Linked DNA regions of Homo sapiens: region 1 is linked to region 2. Evidence: promoter capture Hi-C in 16 types of primary human blood cells and fetal thymus (Javierre and others, 2016). All regions are on one chromosome and are shown on one strand. Each heading gives the region's core, a stretch centred on a gene start or on the middle of the fragment in contact. The rest is flanking DNA. Distances are from core to core; before and after follow the strand shown.

What was found. The method cuts DNA at HindIII sites, captures the fragments that hold promoters and counts their contacts. A CHiCAGO score of 5 or more calls a contact.
Region 1: a fragment that was not itself captured here is called in contact with the fragment with the promoter of NDST4 in region 2 in 1 of 17 cell types (total CD4 T cells); the score reaches 5.7 in total CD4 T cells.

What each region holds. Positions count from the first base shown.
Region 1 is chr4:118,261,582-118,268,671 of GRCh38, reverse strand. It overlaps LOC105377392 (a long non-coding RNA gene), which reads left to right and starts at 2,639. Exons shown (of 3, transcript XR_939113.3): 1 at 2,639-2,888. LOC124900765 (a long non-coding RNA gene) reads right to left here and starts at 2,721. Exons shown (of 2, transcript XR_007058244.1): 1 at 2,690-2,721; 2 at 1,901-2,221. The HindIII fragment of the contact is 751 bases long and covers 1,496-2,246 here.
Region 2 is chr4:115,108,606-115,116,171 of GRCh38, reverse strand. It overlaps NDST4 (N-deacetylase and N-sulfotransferase 4), which reads left to right and starts at 2,552. Exons shown (of 14, transcript NM_022569.3): 1 at 2,552-2,728. The HindIII fragment of the contact is 2,024 bases long and covers 1,365-3,388 here.

The DNA.
Region 1 (7,090 bases), core at 622-3,121, 3.2 Mb before region 2:
AAAATAAATGTCATACTTACACTATAGAGAGAAAAATAAATATATTTCATCTCCAAATGAACAATCATTAAAAAAACCTTCAACTGAATATGTAAGACGTGTTAGTAGTTATTTCTTAATTATATAAGTAAAACTATAGAAAACTAAGTAGAATAGAACCAGATAAGTGACTTTTGTATTTCTCTAATTTAAAACCCTTTTATCAGGATGATAATTTATGTAAATGGGCAGTATTTCTTAGAAAACAGAAGGTCTAGAAAGAAATCTCTGCAATTGAGGACTTAAATTTGATAAAAGCCATACGAATTTTGAAATACCCACCATTCTTTATAGCACTGAACAGAACTTACTGAAAAGGACTAAGAAAGTAAATTATATAAAATAACACAAAAGGGTTCTGAAAATAATTATTTACAGTATCTTTTTTTTTTTTTTGAGAGTCTTGTTCTGACGCTCAGGCTGGAGTGCAGTGGCAGATTTCGGCTTACTGCAACCTCCGTCTCCAGAGTTCAAGTGATTCTCCTGCCCCAGCCTCCCAAGTAGCTGGGATTACAGGCGTACGCCACCACGCCTGGCTAATTTTTGTACTTTTAGTAGAGACGGGATTTCGCCATGTTGGATAGGCTGGTCTCCAACTCCTGACTTCAGGTGATCTGCTCACCTCAGCCTTCCAAAGTGCTGGGATTACAGGTGTGAGCCACTGCACCTGACTACAATTATTTACAGTCTCTAAGGGAGATAGTAGTAATGGTGATAACTAATGTTTATTGAGTACTTATGTGCTCATTAACTCATTTAATCCTAACAATTGTATGAGCGCTATACAATTATTGTCTCTAATTTACAGATGAATAGATTGAGGCACAGAGAAATAATGTAATTAACCTAAGGTTTGAAGTGGATTTGAATGTAGTCTCACTGGCTCAGAGCCCATGCTCTTAACTGGTGTTGTGTGTAAAGGGAGAAAAATGATACTAGGTATAAAATAAGTCTGAGCTTTGCTACTTGTGTGACCTTGGGAAAATTATCTATCCATTCCAAACCTGTTTCCTCATCTGTAGAAGGAAACCAGCAGTATCTTCCTTTTGGTATTATTGTTAGGATAACTTATAAGAATTATCTGGTAATTATCATTTAAAAGTTAGAGGTTTTGTTTTTTTGTCCTACATTTAATAATTATTTTGCTAATTTTAATTATTATTTAAAATTGAATTTATTTTTTGTTATTTAGAAGACAGTTTTAAGTCTTTGTATGATTGGGGAAATATATATTTTTGTTAATCGAATTTATTGATTTTTATGAAAAGTTATACTTTTTTCTAGCACTTAAATATAAGAACATATGTATGTTAAAACTGTCATGTCTTTTCCAGTTACTTATTGTGAAATTAATTCAACAAGTATTTATTGAGCACTTATTATTTCAGAGACTAGACCCATCGATGTGGGGATATATTGATGAAAGAAAAGACAAATAGTTTGCTTTCGAGAAGCTTATTCAAGTAGGAGAAGACAAAAGATCTAATAAAATTGGTAAACTACAGAATTAGTTATAAGATTTTAAGTGCTATGGTTCAAAAAAGATTAGTTCGGAGTAATAGGAATCAGGAGTCAGGGAAGGGAGGAAGGGGTGAAATTTTATGTAAGGTTGTCAGGGTAGGCCTTATTGAGAAAATGACATCTGAGCAAAGACTGAACTACAGTGTAGAAGTTAGCCACGTTGATATTTGTGGGCATGTTAACATGAATGTCTTAAATAAGATAGTCAGCAAGGGAGCCAGTGCAACTGTTGCAGAATGAGAGTTTGAAAAGAGGAGCTGCGGTTAGAAAGGTGATGAATACCACATCATGTAAGGCCTTGCAGGCCACTATAAGGACCGTAGCATAAAAAGTAGAGCTATTGCAGGAATTAAAGTGCTTTGATTTAATTTGTAAAAGGATTATGTCCGGACTTGGTGGGTTCTTGGTCTCACTGACTTCAAGAACAAAGCCACGGACCCTCCCGGTGGGTGTTACAGTTCTTAAAGGCAGCGTGTGCAGAGTTTGTTCCTTCTGATGTTCGGATGTGTTCGGAGTTTCTTCCTGGTCTCGCAGCTTGTTTTTTCCTTCTGGTGGGTTCGTGGTCTTGCTGGTTTCAGGAGTGAAGCTGCAGACCTTCATGGTGAGAGTTACAGCTCATAAACACAGTGTGGACTCAAAGAGTGAGCAGCAGTAAGAGTAACTGCAAAGAGCAAAAGAACAAAGCTTCCACAGCGTGGAAGAAGACCCAAACAAGCAGGCTGCCACTGCTGGCTAGGGCAGTCTGCTTTTATTCCCTTATCTGGCCCCACTCACATCCTGCTGATCGGTCCATTTTACAGAGAGCTGATTGGTCCGTTTTGACAGGGTGCTGACTGGTGCGTTTACAATCCTTGAGCTAGACACAAAAGTTCTCCAAGTCCCTACTAGATTAGCTAGACACAGAGCACTGATTGGTGCATTTACAAACCTTGAGCTAGACACAGGGTGCTGATTGGTGTGTTTACAAACCTTGAGCTAGACACAGGGTGCTGATTGGTGTGTTTACAAACCTTGAGCTAGACACAGGGCGCTGATTGGTGTATTTACAATCCCTTAGCTAGACAGAAAGGTTCTCCAAGTCCCCACTAGACTCAGGAGTCCAGCTGACTTCACCCAGTGGATCCTGTACCTGGACCGCAGGTGGAGCTGCCCGCCAGTCCCGCGTAGTGCGCCCGTACTCCTCAGCCCTTGGGCGGTCGATGGGACTGGGCGCGGTGGAGCAGGGGGCGGCGCTCGTTGGGGAGGCTCCCGCCGCGCAGGAGCCCAGGTGGGGGGAGGCGCAGGCATGGGTGGCTGCAGGTCCCGAGCCCTGCCCCGCGGAGAGGCAGGTAAGGCCAAGCAAGAAATCGAGCGCAGCGCTGGTGGGCCGGCACTGCTGGGGGACCCGGCGCACCCTCCGCAGCTGCTGGCCCAGGTGCTAAGCCCCTCAATGCCCGGGGCCGGCGGGGCCGGCTGGCTGGCCAAGCCGCTCCGAGTGCGGTGCCCGCGGAGCCCACGCCCACCCGGAACTCGCGCTGGCGCGCAAGCGCCGCGCGCAGGCCAGGTTCCCGCCCGCGCCTCTCCCTCCACATCTCCCGGCAAGCTGAGGGAGCCGGCTCCGGCCTCAGCCAGCCCGGAAAGGGGCTTCCACAGTGCAGCGGCAGGCTGAAAGGCTCCTCAGCGCGGCCAGAATGGGCGCCGAGGCTGAGGAGGCGCCGAAAGCGAGTGAGGGCTGTGAGGGCTGCCAGCGTGCTGTCACCTCTCAGGATTACCCTGGATGTTGGGTTAATAGCGGATTGTAGTACAGATACCTGGAAGTAGGGAGGATAACCAGGATAAAGATTATGGCATCTTTTTTTTTTTTTTGAGACACAGTTTTGCTCTGTCGCCATGTTGGAGTGCAGTGGCGCGATCTTGACTCACTGCAACTTCCGCCTCCTGGGTTCAAGTGAGTCCCCTGCCTCAGCCTCCTGAGTAGCTGGGACTACAGGTGTGTGTCACCACACCCGGCTAATTTTTTATTTTGAATTTTAGTAGAGATGGGCTTTCACCATGTTGGCCAGGATGGTCTCAATCTCCTGACGTTGTGATCCACTCGCCTTGGCCTCCCAAAGAGCTGGGATTACAGGCGTGAGCCACCGCGCCCAGCTGATTATGGCATCTTAGAATGAGGTGGCAGCCCTGGATTTGGTGAGAAGTGGTTGGTTTTGGATAGAAGTGAAGATTGAGCCAACAGGATTTCTTGACAGATCAAATGTGGGGTTTGCTAACCAAGGGATTCACTATCCTATAGTATTCACAGTTCTTGCCTACACTCAAGGAGATAGGATCATATAAAGGCATCATCACTCTTAGAGTGTGTCTACCACAAGAATGGAATAGGTTTTTTGGAGGAAGATGGTAATCCACAGATGAACCTCACCTGCAGACTCAACCCTGACTACATCACTGTGTGTACACTGGATCATCTTAACTGAGGCAGAGCCTATCACTAACCTCAAACCCTAGCTGAGTGCCCTTTTTCCCTGAGTATCCATTGTTGCTAATTGGACCTGAAATGTAATGCTTATGTAGTGCGTAAAAATTCCATAATTCACAACCTGTCCAAAATAGAGCTTTCTTTAGTTTTTAATAATTGTCCCCATTCAAGATATGATTTTTAAATATCTTTTAGGAAAACCCAGTCAAAGTCAAGATTGTTCTCTCCATTTCTTCCAAAGGTGGTCATGGCAGTGGACATGAAGTGGTAGGGTAACATCTGTTCTCAGCCATCATCTCTCCTCTGCTGGCATTGGATGAACCTCAACAGGTTCAGTCTTTGTAAAGTGATCTCTAGATTCCACGGTCTAGGCTCCTTTCATGGCCCGTAGTCATCAATCTGTGCAGGTTATTCAATGCCGTCTTTGTCCCAGCTGCCAGGTCCCTTTGGATTTAAAAGGCTTTTCTTGGTGATTCCTGCAGCTTATCTGGAGAAATGGAACTTTTATGTGTTCTCCTGTGCCACTGTGGAGCTTGTGCAAACCTGTGTATTTATACCTAGGATACCATGAGCTATCTCTACTGCTTGGAGGGAGGGCCTTCACCATTGGTGGGCAGAGTACACGGAGGAGGTTGCTGCTTTGCAGAGTTTTAAATGGAAAGTAGGGCACAGCTTTCTCTACTGTTTGATCCTCAGACTTAAAGATCTCTCATCCTCCATTTTTAGGGCTCAGCTTGGTGTCAAGGAGGAAGGCAGGGGGAGAAGAAACCCAAACTTGAATTTACCTCTCTTTTCCTTTTTGCAGTATTCCTTCATCTCTAGCCAGGCAACTCCATTCTGGGAGTAGAGTGGGAAGGTGGTGGAGAGGAGGTGTAGTCTGGCTTCCCACTTATTTTCTTTCTAGCCTATTGTTGATGGTGTAAATCTTGGCTTTAGGTACTTAAGTTACTTCCAACTCCCGTGCCAATGGCTCTCATACTTTTTAGTCTGGGGATCCTTTTACATTCTTAAACATTGTTGAGAACCCCAAAGGGCTTTTGTTTATAAAACAAAAGCATTATATTTATCAATATTATAGATAAATTTATCAATATTATAGATAACTCTATATAGATAATATAGAGTTATAGTTTTTAATATTTAATTTATTAGAAATTAAAATGGAGAAATCAAAAAACATTAAAAAATAACAAGAACAAACCCATAATAAAGCTATAGTTTTAAAGAAAAAATAGCTATGTTTCCCAAAACAAAAGAAAATGAGAAGAATGGCATTGTGTTACATTTTGGTAAATTTCTTTAATGTTTGGCTTAATAGAGATTGGATTCTCCTATCTATTTCTGCATTCAATTTATTTTGATAGGTTGTTTTGTTGAAGTATATGAAGAAAATCTGGCCTCATACCCTTATGTGTATGGGAAAGGAAAGTATATATTTATATACCCATATGTGGGAAAAGAAAGTATATATTTATAGCCTTTTCAGATAATTGTGGATATTTTTCTTTGATACTACATTCAAAATTGACAAGTGCTATTGTCTTAAAGGATATTTTTGCAATGTGGAATCTGAAATAAATCAATGAACTGTTCATACTGTGCTACATTAAAATCTACTGGTTTATCTTACTCTGAGAATAGACCTTTCACTATTATAACGATTATGCTATGTATATGTATACTGTATACTATGTATATGTGTTTTGTGACCTCATGCATTGCTTTTTTGGAAAATGGTTTACTGAGTTATGCTGATCTTTCAAACATTGACACCTTTCATTATATAATGTTAGAAAATTACGTTTTTTAATATCACCACCAATCTCATCAGAAAGATCTTTAAATATGAGTATGCTGTGAAGCTCATGGTAGCAATACAAGTTGTACAAAATTCTAATTTTTACTTGAAAGCTGAAATTTTATAATTGGCAAGAAATACTGTCAATTGTTTTTTGTTGAAGTGAGAGGCTCACTTCGTTCAGTTTTAAGAAAACATTTGCCAATTGCTCAAGTCTGAATAACCATAATTCTCTGTCATTCTTTCAAGTAAAAAGGATGTTCCATGAATAAAGTGGCTAGTTCCACTTGCAACTCAAACAGCTGCTCAAGGGCTTTTTTTTCAAGACAACCACCTACTTCAGTATGTAGCAGACATGCTTCAGGCACACTTCACATTTTGTCACACGGAAGATTAAAAAGCATATACTGTAGTGTGGAAATGTAATAATATCAATAATTTTACTGCTTTGTCAAATCATAAGTGACACTGTTTTAAAAAATGAGTGTGTGATGATGATGAATACAATAGTACAGATTAATTCTACTGGCTTGATTTATGCTAAAGCACGAGCAGTTTTACCCATTATTGTTATTGCACCATTAGTATCAATATCAACACAATGACGAAGGCATATAATGAATTCACATTATTATAAAAATCGTTTTGACCTTGCAGACCCCCTGAAGAGGACTGAGGTCTGCTCAAGATCCACAGGATATATTTTGAAACTCTTGTACTGTAGTGCTGACACTACACTATAGCAGAGGTCCTGTTTATTAGTTAATCTCTTGGATAATATCCAGTATCTGATGCTGCTTAGATTTCTTGCTTCTGTGGTCCTCCTTCTGGACACAGTTTGTCCTGAATATTTACAGTCTTGATCTTTAAAATGACAAATTATTGTTGTTATACAAGTACAGCAATTAATGCATTTGGAAATAAAAATTTAAATACTTTTCCCAGGTCCAGCACTCTAGTCCCAGTTATCAAAGGCAACTTGCTTTTACCATTTGTTTAAGCTCTGCTGATTATCTTCATAATTCCAATTACGCTTTTACCTTTGTTAATTTTTCAACTTTAAGCAGTATCTGTTGGCTCCCCACATGAGGGGGAGACATTTAGCTCATTTATATTACTGTTTCTCACATTCTTGCTTATCTTCCTAATTTTTGAGCATGTATTTATGTTTTTATTTTTGTTTTTAGCTCTTCTTTTGGTTTTGTTTGTGGCTTTAAATAAACGTCAGTGTCTGCTAAACTTAACACAGGCCAAGAGGACCAGGGTGGCTCATC
Region 2 (7,566 bases), core at 1,303-3,802:
TTTGTTTTGTTTTAGTGTGAGTGTTGTGAATTTCTCTGGTTTTCCCCAGGAATAGAAAAGAAAGCACTTTTTGGTGGGTTTCCATTCATTTATACATATGTATATGGTGGGACCCTCTGCCTTCAGTACTTAGTGTATTTCTGAATGAAAAATGAGGCAGGGAGAGTAAAGTTGGGTATTTTTTCCCTAAATTGAATTTTAATTACTCATCTCTGGATTTTTTGAATTTCAAAGTTCATGTTTCACAAATATTTAAAAGAATTTTACCTTTAATAAGAATATCTTCTATTAATATTTTATATAGCATTTTTACACTGTGAAAGTAGTTACCTCTTCAGCTTAAAACATTGTTTATAGTTTAATGCTAGAGAAGAAGTTGATCAACATTTTTCACTTGTAATCATCAATGGATATCAGCTCTAGTTTATCACTAGAGCCGAGGATATAAACCCTGCTCCATGTTTTAATGTGATGGGTTTTATCTTCAGATCACTGTGTTGCCATTTAGTTCCAATAAATGAAAATACTCTGATAAAGTGGCATTCTTGAGTTGTGAAATAGAACTATGTCAATAATATAAAGATGTTGAGCATTTATAATAGTTTTTCATTTAAATTATTTTTCTAAAGTTAAGACTTAAAAATAATTACCCAACTTGAATAAAGAAGAAGGCATTATTAGTAAGCCAAACTACATACAACAGAAAAATCTTCAATTGGCTTTTACAATTTATGCTATTTTATGTTATTTATCAACTGTTAGTGTTTCCCATGATGCTACTCTAGTAATAATTATTTTATTATGACATCTTTGAAATATTTAACTGCAGTTTATTTATCCATTTTGAATTTTGATGTGTATCACTCTGAAAATTCTGACTTGACTTCAATGCATCTTTGCATTCCAAATGTTTTAAAAGGTAGTAAGAAGTACCTGAACGCTTTAATTATTTTTAAAATATAAATTTTTTCTTTAATATATTTTAGCCTGTGCACCTGAAAAACTAACTGATACATGACCTATGAGTTACTAGGTTTTATTTATTGCTTATGAATAACTGGTAAATATTTTTTCTAACTTGCTAGATTTTTTTTCCCTATTCTCTGTATGGCATATGTCTATGGCTTGCTAACCCTCAAAACCTTGTGCAGTATAATAATACTAGTAATCCTGGATGCATTAAAATTATTCTTCTGAAAGACCACATCATCAATAAATGCTGAGTTTTGAAGGACTCCCTCCTACCCCTACCTTCCAGTCTTATAGAGGATTTCATTGAAACCACACCAGTATTTCAAGTGGAACTACTACGTACAACCAAAGACACCCATATACCTGAGGAGGACTTGGAGTTGAGAAAAGCTTGTAGTTCTGTTCTGCAACCTATTAGGGGTGTTGAACCAAATTCTCATTAGCCTATCTTATTCCACTAAATTAAATGGTAGAAACTAAGGGATGTACTAAAGCAAGAAAAGCCCAGGGAATCATGTAGTCTGGAATGAGGAGAAGTACCTGAAAGCACTTTACTTTTACTTTTACATATATCCTAATGAATAAGTTTAAAGAACTTTACATAATGTATATAAAAGTACTTGATAATATCTTTATGTGTTTACACGAATTAATAGAAAACAAAGAGCAGGTAATTTTCAACTTATATTGCCACGTTAAAAAGAAGAAAAGAGACATAGAAAAGAACTTTTCCATAATAATCCAGTAGTTTACCTTAATTACTAAAACAATGCACACAATAAATTCACACGCACATACTCTTTCTTTTCTTCTAACATTTATCATGGTCTAAAATGCTGTTATTAACTTCAGGACTATGTAGCTTACTAATACTTGTCCGAGTTTCCTATTGCTCATTGTTGGCTTTTGTTGAGTTTGTAATTTTTGTGTTTAACTGGCACACATTTACAGCAGAAAATCCTGCTTTGAACTTTTCTTATTTTGTCCAATAGAATCTCGTGGAACAGTGTCATAGCTGCAAAGTGGAATTCTATCCTCAAATTTCATAGGAAATAGTCGAACTGTACAATGAAAGATTATGCAAATCTTCAAGGAGCATCTAATCAATCACCGCGGTGTGAGCGGAATGCAGCCCATCGCTGAATTAGCTTCTGTTGGAATGTATTCATGTGTAACATCCCACTGACTGGATGACATCACAACAGCTCCAGGTCCTTGAAAGTCTTGAGGATGATTAGCTGAAGGAATTGGCTGTTTCTGCCAATCATAATCCGGCAAAGCTGCCTTTATAGTTCTGGAGATGTGAGAGAGAGGGAGGGAGGGAAAGACCGACTACAGCTAAACAAGAGGCACAGCAGCACTAGCAACAGCAGAGCAGGAGCAGCTGGTATTCCGGTGATTAAATAGTTCTCATAGCCTTTTTGCTGTACTCGGTCTGCTCCCTGGTGTAATTCTCGTGTCCAAGAAGGAAGCTGCATTTTAACGGTGTGCTGAACAGAGGTTTGAATCATTCCAGCTGGCTGCTTGTTTTGAAAAGGACAATGTGTGTATAAATAAAAGGACTCTGCTGGAAGAGTTCAGACACTAAGACTGGAGCTAGAGAGTGCTCTTGGAATATTGTTGAGGCAGATTGCATGAACTGAAAGCTCCTTCTAATTAACCTGGAGCCAAGTGAACCTGAATACTGGATATCTCATGTTCTAACACGGGATAAATTCAAGTTAGAAAAAGACAAAATATTGAAATGCTTCTCTAGGTAAGTTACTGCTTAATTTGCTGAAATCGAGGTGTGTATCATAAATGAATATGCGTTGCTTAGCTATGTAAACAAGTCGGACACAATAAAGTTTTATTTGTGAAAGATTTATGTAGAAGCAGATAATATCTTAAAACCAAATTCAATCTCCCTTTTCCGCATGTGTGTGCTTACCTGTCATCATGCTTTATAGAAGTTATATTTGCACGTAAGTAGAAAATACAGTCGTACATAAAAAAAAAGAGATACAACTTGATAAAATTTAAACAGTTGCCGGAACATTTGCATAGGAAATATCTTATTTGATAACAACTTTAGCCTTTTCATATTAAAAGCACCAATTTTACAAACTCAACATCCAAAGTTAACTGTAGGGTTATAAATGTTTCCCTAATAAGTGTTACTGAAAACATGGCATTCAAATTACCGAAGATGGGAACTCCTGTTTTTTGGACCTGAGATTTATAGGCATGCTCTGTACTAATGGTCTGCTTTAGAGAAACAGCTGTCACAGACATGTGAAATTGTATGTTACAGTCATAAATTGCTTATAAAGAAATAGGTGCTTTCCTCCTACCTCCTATTAGAAAAGAAAAATAAATTCTTAGAACAATATATGTCATATGCCCTAAGCATAGTTTCCTAGGAGGACAGAAAGCTTTATGGTATACCTCCAATTTCCTCAAGCACAGAATAAGTTGGAAAACAAGAAATGTTATTGGAATATGGTTTTACTCATTCTTTTCAATATTCTTTTTGAGAAAGCTAAATAAGGAAAATTAAACCTTATTTTTCTTAGAATTTGTCCTGATTAATAAAATACTATATTCTACAGAATTCCTGTCATAGTTTTTTTAAGTGATTATATGTTTTGTTTATTATGATAAGTTATACTGTGAGTTCTCATACAGCTTTAGAAAGTTTTAAGTTTATGTTTTATCATGTCTCTTTCAAACTCACCTTTGCTTGTTTTCGTGGTGCCTTTTATCAGAATATTTTTCATTTGCACAGTTTCATAAATGCTTTAACATAAATTGCATACCAAGATACTGATGTGTTTCTGTAACTCTCAGAATGATTTTAGTTTTCCACTTTCTCACCAACAACATGGTTAAAATCCTGTGAGGTTTCTGCCCCAAGAGGAAATTGATAAAGATGAAAGTTATTGTAATTGGTTGAATTTCCCCAAAACTAGGAAGCAATGAATTTTCCCACAACGATGTAAAGGTTTTTTTTTTTTTTTCATATCAAAAGAGTAATTTATTCTACTCTATTAAAAGTATGCCAGTTAGCTATATCCCAGTGTCACATAGGTTCTGTGCTGGTCATTTGTGTGCATGAGTGTGTGCGTGTGTGTGTGTGTGTGAGTAGCAAGTTTATGTAAAGAATATAAAGTCCACTGACTACAACAGTCTAAGTTTTCAACTGGAATTCATAAAAAACTAATTAATAAGCAAAATATAATTGCCATTTACATTTATCTCAATATATAAATGGGAAGTTAAGCCTACTATTGTTGACATTTTTAAAAATAAGAAATCGTATGACAATACATTATGATGATCAATATTAAACAATGTTTACATTGATAGACATCTCATAATAAGCTAATTGGGAAGATTTTTAGAAATTGAATACTAAGCAGAATGGGCCTTTTAACTCTATCTGAATGGCACCTGGTCACCACTAAGACTGATACATAAAAACCCTTTGAAAAAGTTATAATATATATGAGTTACTAATATAACTTGAAAATCACCCTTAGATCCAATTTAGAAACTCAGGCATTATTTTTAAATAAAAGGAAGGTAAAACCTCCTGAAAATTTGAATTTTTTAAATTGATTAATGCAAATATATAAATAATAAATAAAAATGCAAATATATGTAAATTACATTTTGTTTTCTCCAAGATAGGCTTATTATTTAAGAAATGTGTAATTTTAAATATATTATCCTAAACATCAAAAGGAAGTATATGGGGACTATTTTTATATATAAATATATTAAGTCATAATTTGGAATTTCTATAATTGATAATCAAAATAGAAACATATGCTCATGCTTATGTTCACCTCAGGAAAATAAGGATCTTTCATTTTTTATTTGAGATTAAAAACTGTTATACCTATTCTTTCTTCTCCCAAAGAAAAGCATTCTATACTTGGATTTAAAATAAACATAATTCAATCTCAATACTAACATTAGTTCTTAAACGTACTAAATAAATGTTTCCAACCCAGTAGAACAGTTGTCCCCAGTAGGTTAAATGTTCATATGATCCCCTTGTACTTTCTGTTTGAGTTGAAAGGGGGCCTTTGGAAATAAAATCCAAAGATCAAACTTTGTGTGCATCATTTACAAGCAATTACTAAGGGAGAAGAGAGAAGCATTTAGCATACTGTGTTCAAACTAGAAGATTCTGGCTGGTGCTGCCTTCCCAGATTTAGAAAGCAGCTGGGGAAACATAAAATAAAGCTAGAATATCAGCCCTGGCTGGAAGCCAAGACAGAGAAGCTGTGCACCCAGAAGGCTAATTCTTTCTGGGCTAAAATTCATTGATAATGCATTATGTTTAGAGTCTAACCTGAAGTGTTATTTTTTTTCTCCAGTACAAACTGTGGGATATTTAAAGAACAAATATATTTTCTAAGTAGAATTAAATTTTAAACTAACAAAGGTTTCTTCTTTATTAAAAGTTGCTCTGTTGAAAAAATGCAAATAAGCCTACCAGAAACTCCTATAAAATACAGTTTATTCTCAGGAAAAGAAAAAGAAATAACGATGAGATGCATCATCTAACCATGATCTTGGAGAGGCAGAGAGATCAGAAATGACACATATGGATACATGCCAAAACAAAGAAATGTGAAAGTTTTATTAAAATACCTGGCCTAGTAAAATTTACAGTAAAGATACACACACTAAATACTGTTGTAGCATATATCTTCTGAAGGTAGGCAGCAAACATAAGGTAAACTCTCATTACGTACCCCCAGATAACTAGGAAAAAGAGAAACCATGTTGTCTGTTGATTTATTTGAAGTTTACGAAGTGAGATAAATGGGTCAGGTGTCAGACACAATGCTACCGCCTTCAGCCATCATGATAAAACATCTAGCCAGCCTTTTCTTTAACACTTCAGGAAACTTTCAGCTATGCTGTTATGCAGGGTGTTAAATGCCCTATTTTTAAAAGTTATTTTCAGCAAGCTTAAGAAGTTAGAGGTGTTATTTGCAATGCAGAATGTGTACACATATATACAGGCATTTCTAATAGATATAGTTCTATTTCCAAGCTTTCTTTATCTCAGTTTTCTAAGGAAAACTATCACTTTCTAGAGGTGACAAATCTAAAATTTCTTTCAGAAATAATATTGAATTGAAAATAGATTTCCTCAAAAGCTAAAATAGTCTGAAAATGAATTCCAAACTCATCAATAGCCTCAGGCATTTCAAGGCAAAAATATTTTTTTGAAATGTGAATAGTAAATTACTCTTCATTCCAACAGGTAAACATGTTTGCTGATATAACTTAATGTATTTATTTTCTTTGCATTGTTATAGTTTGTCTATATTCATCAGTATTCAGAAAATTCATGCCATGAAATAGGTTTTAATAAAATAAACTACACATGACAGGCTAAATAATGGTTTTCAGGTGACCCTTTGAGGTCATTTACATACATAGGCTATTTTAGATATATCTTTTAAAAGAGATAATATACTTCATTAACACTAAATAAATAGTTATGTTTAATTAGTTGAAATTTTGAAAAATCTGAGAAAAAAGGGTTAAAACTATGTCTGAATGCTTGAGAATATAATTTGATATTGTACTCAGAAAACAGAAGCGAGACTTTTGTTGAGAAACAAAAGTGATGACTCTAGTGAATTATAGAATTGGGACTTCTGTACTAAATCCAATTTGTACTCTGTTTAGAAATTATTACTTTAAGTATTTGAAGAGTTCAATGAAGAAAGCAACTTTAGCAAGCTAATAAACACATGAGTTTTATGTGCGGCCACATGCTTCATTTGTTCCCAAATTAGAGGAATTTCTCTATTTTGCAAATTCCACCATCAATTGAACTTATGTTGTGATTTATTTCAAATATTTAGCCTCCTTTTAAAAAGTCCTTAATGGAATGCATCGTCAACTATAACTACACAGAAGTTGAAAGTTAGCTTGGCCAGGTTCACTATATTCAAGTAAAAAGTAAATGGAGAAATGCTTCCTTAATCTCTTTTCATTAGCTCCTTTCTTTCTTCTCTTTCTTTTACTCATTTTTCTTATTTCCCTTCCCTTCCTCTCTTTTTCTATTCTTTTTCTTTATTCTTTTCTCTCTTCTCTTCTTATTTTACCACTTTTTCCTTCCTTCCTCCCTTCCTTTCTTCCTTCCTTCCTTCCCTTTTCCCTCTTTCCTTCCTTCTTCCTTCTTGCTTTCCTACCTTCCTCTTGTCTTTTTTCCTTTCTTCCTCCCTTTTTCCCTCCTTCCTTTATTTCCATTCATTTTTGCCACTTCAGCTTACATGCTCTCTTGTGTAATTGGAAAGCAAATCACTCATCTTTAGTATTGTGGCAATTATTAATCTAATAACCTGGTTTGAACACAGAGTAAGTGGGGAAAATGAAGAGAAAGAGTGGGTTAAGTTGCAATAAGCAATCAAGGAAAAGTGAAATAGGGTGGGAGATTTATTTCAGAGAAATAGTGATGTTGACTTTAACATATGGGCTGTTCTTCCACCTATAAATTTCCATTTAATTTACTAAATTATTTAAGTGGAATTCTTTTTTTTCCAACACTCCCTTTTTAATATCAGTCACATCTTTTCCATA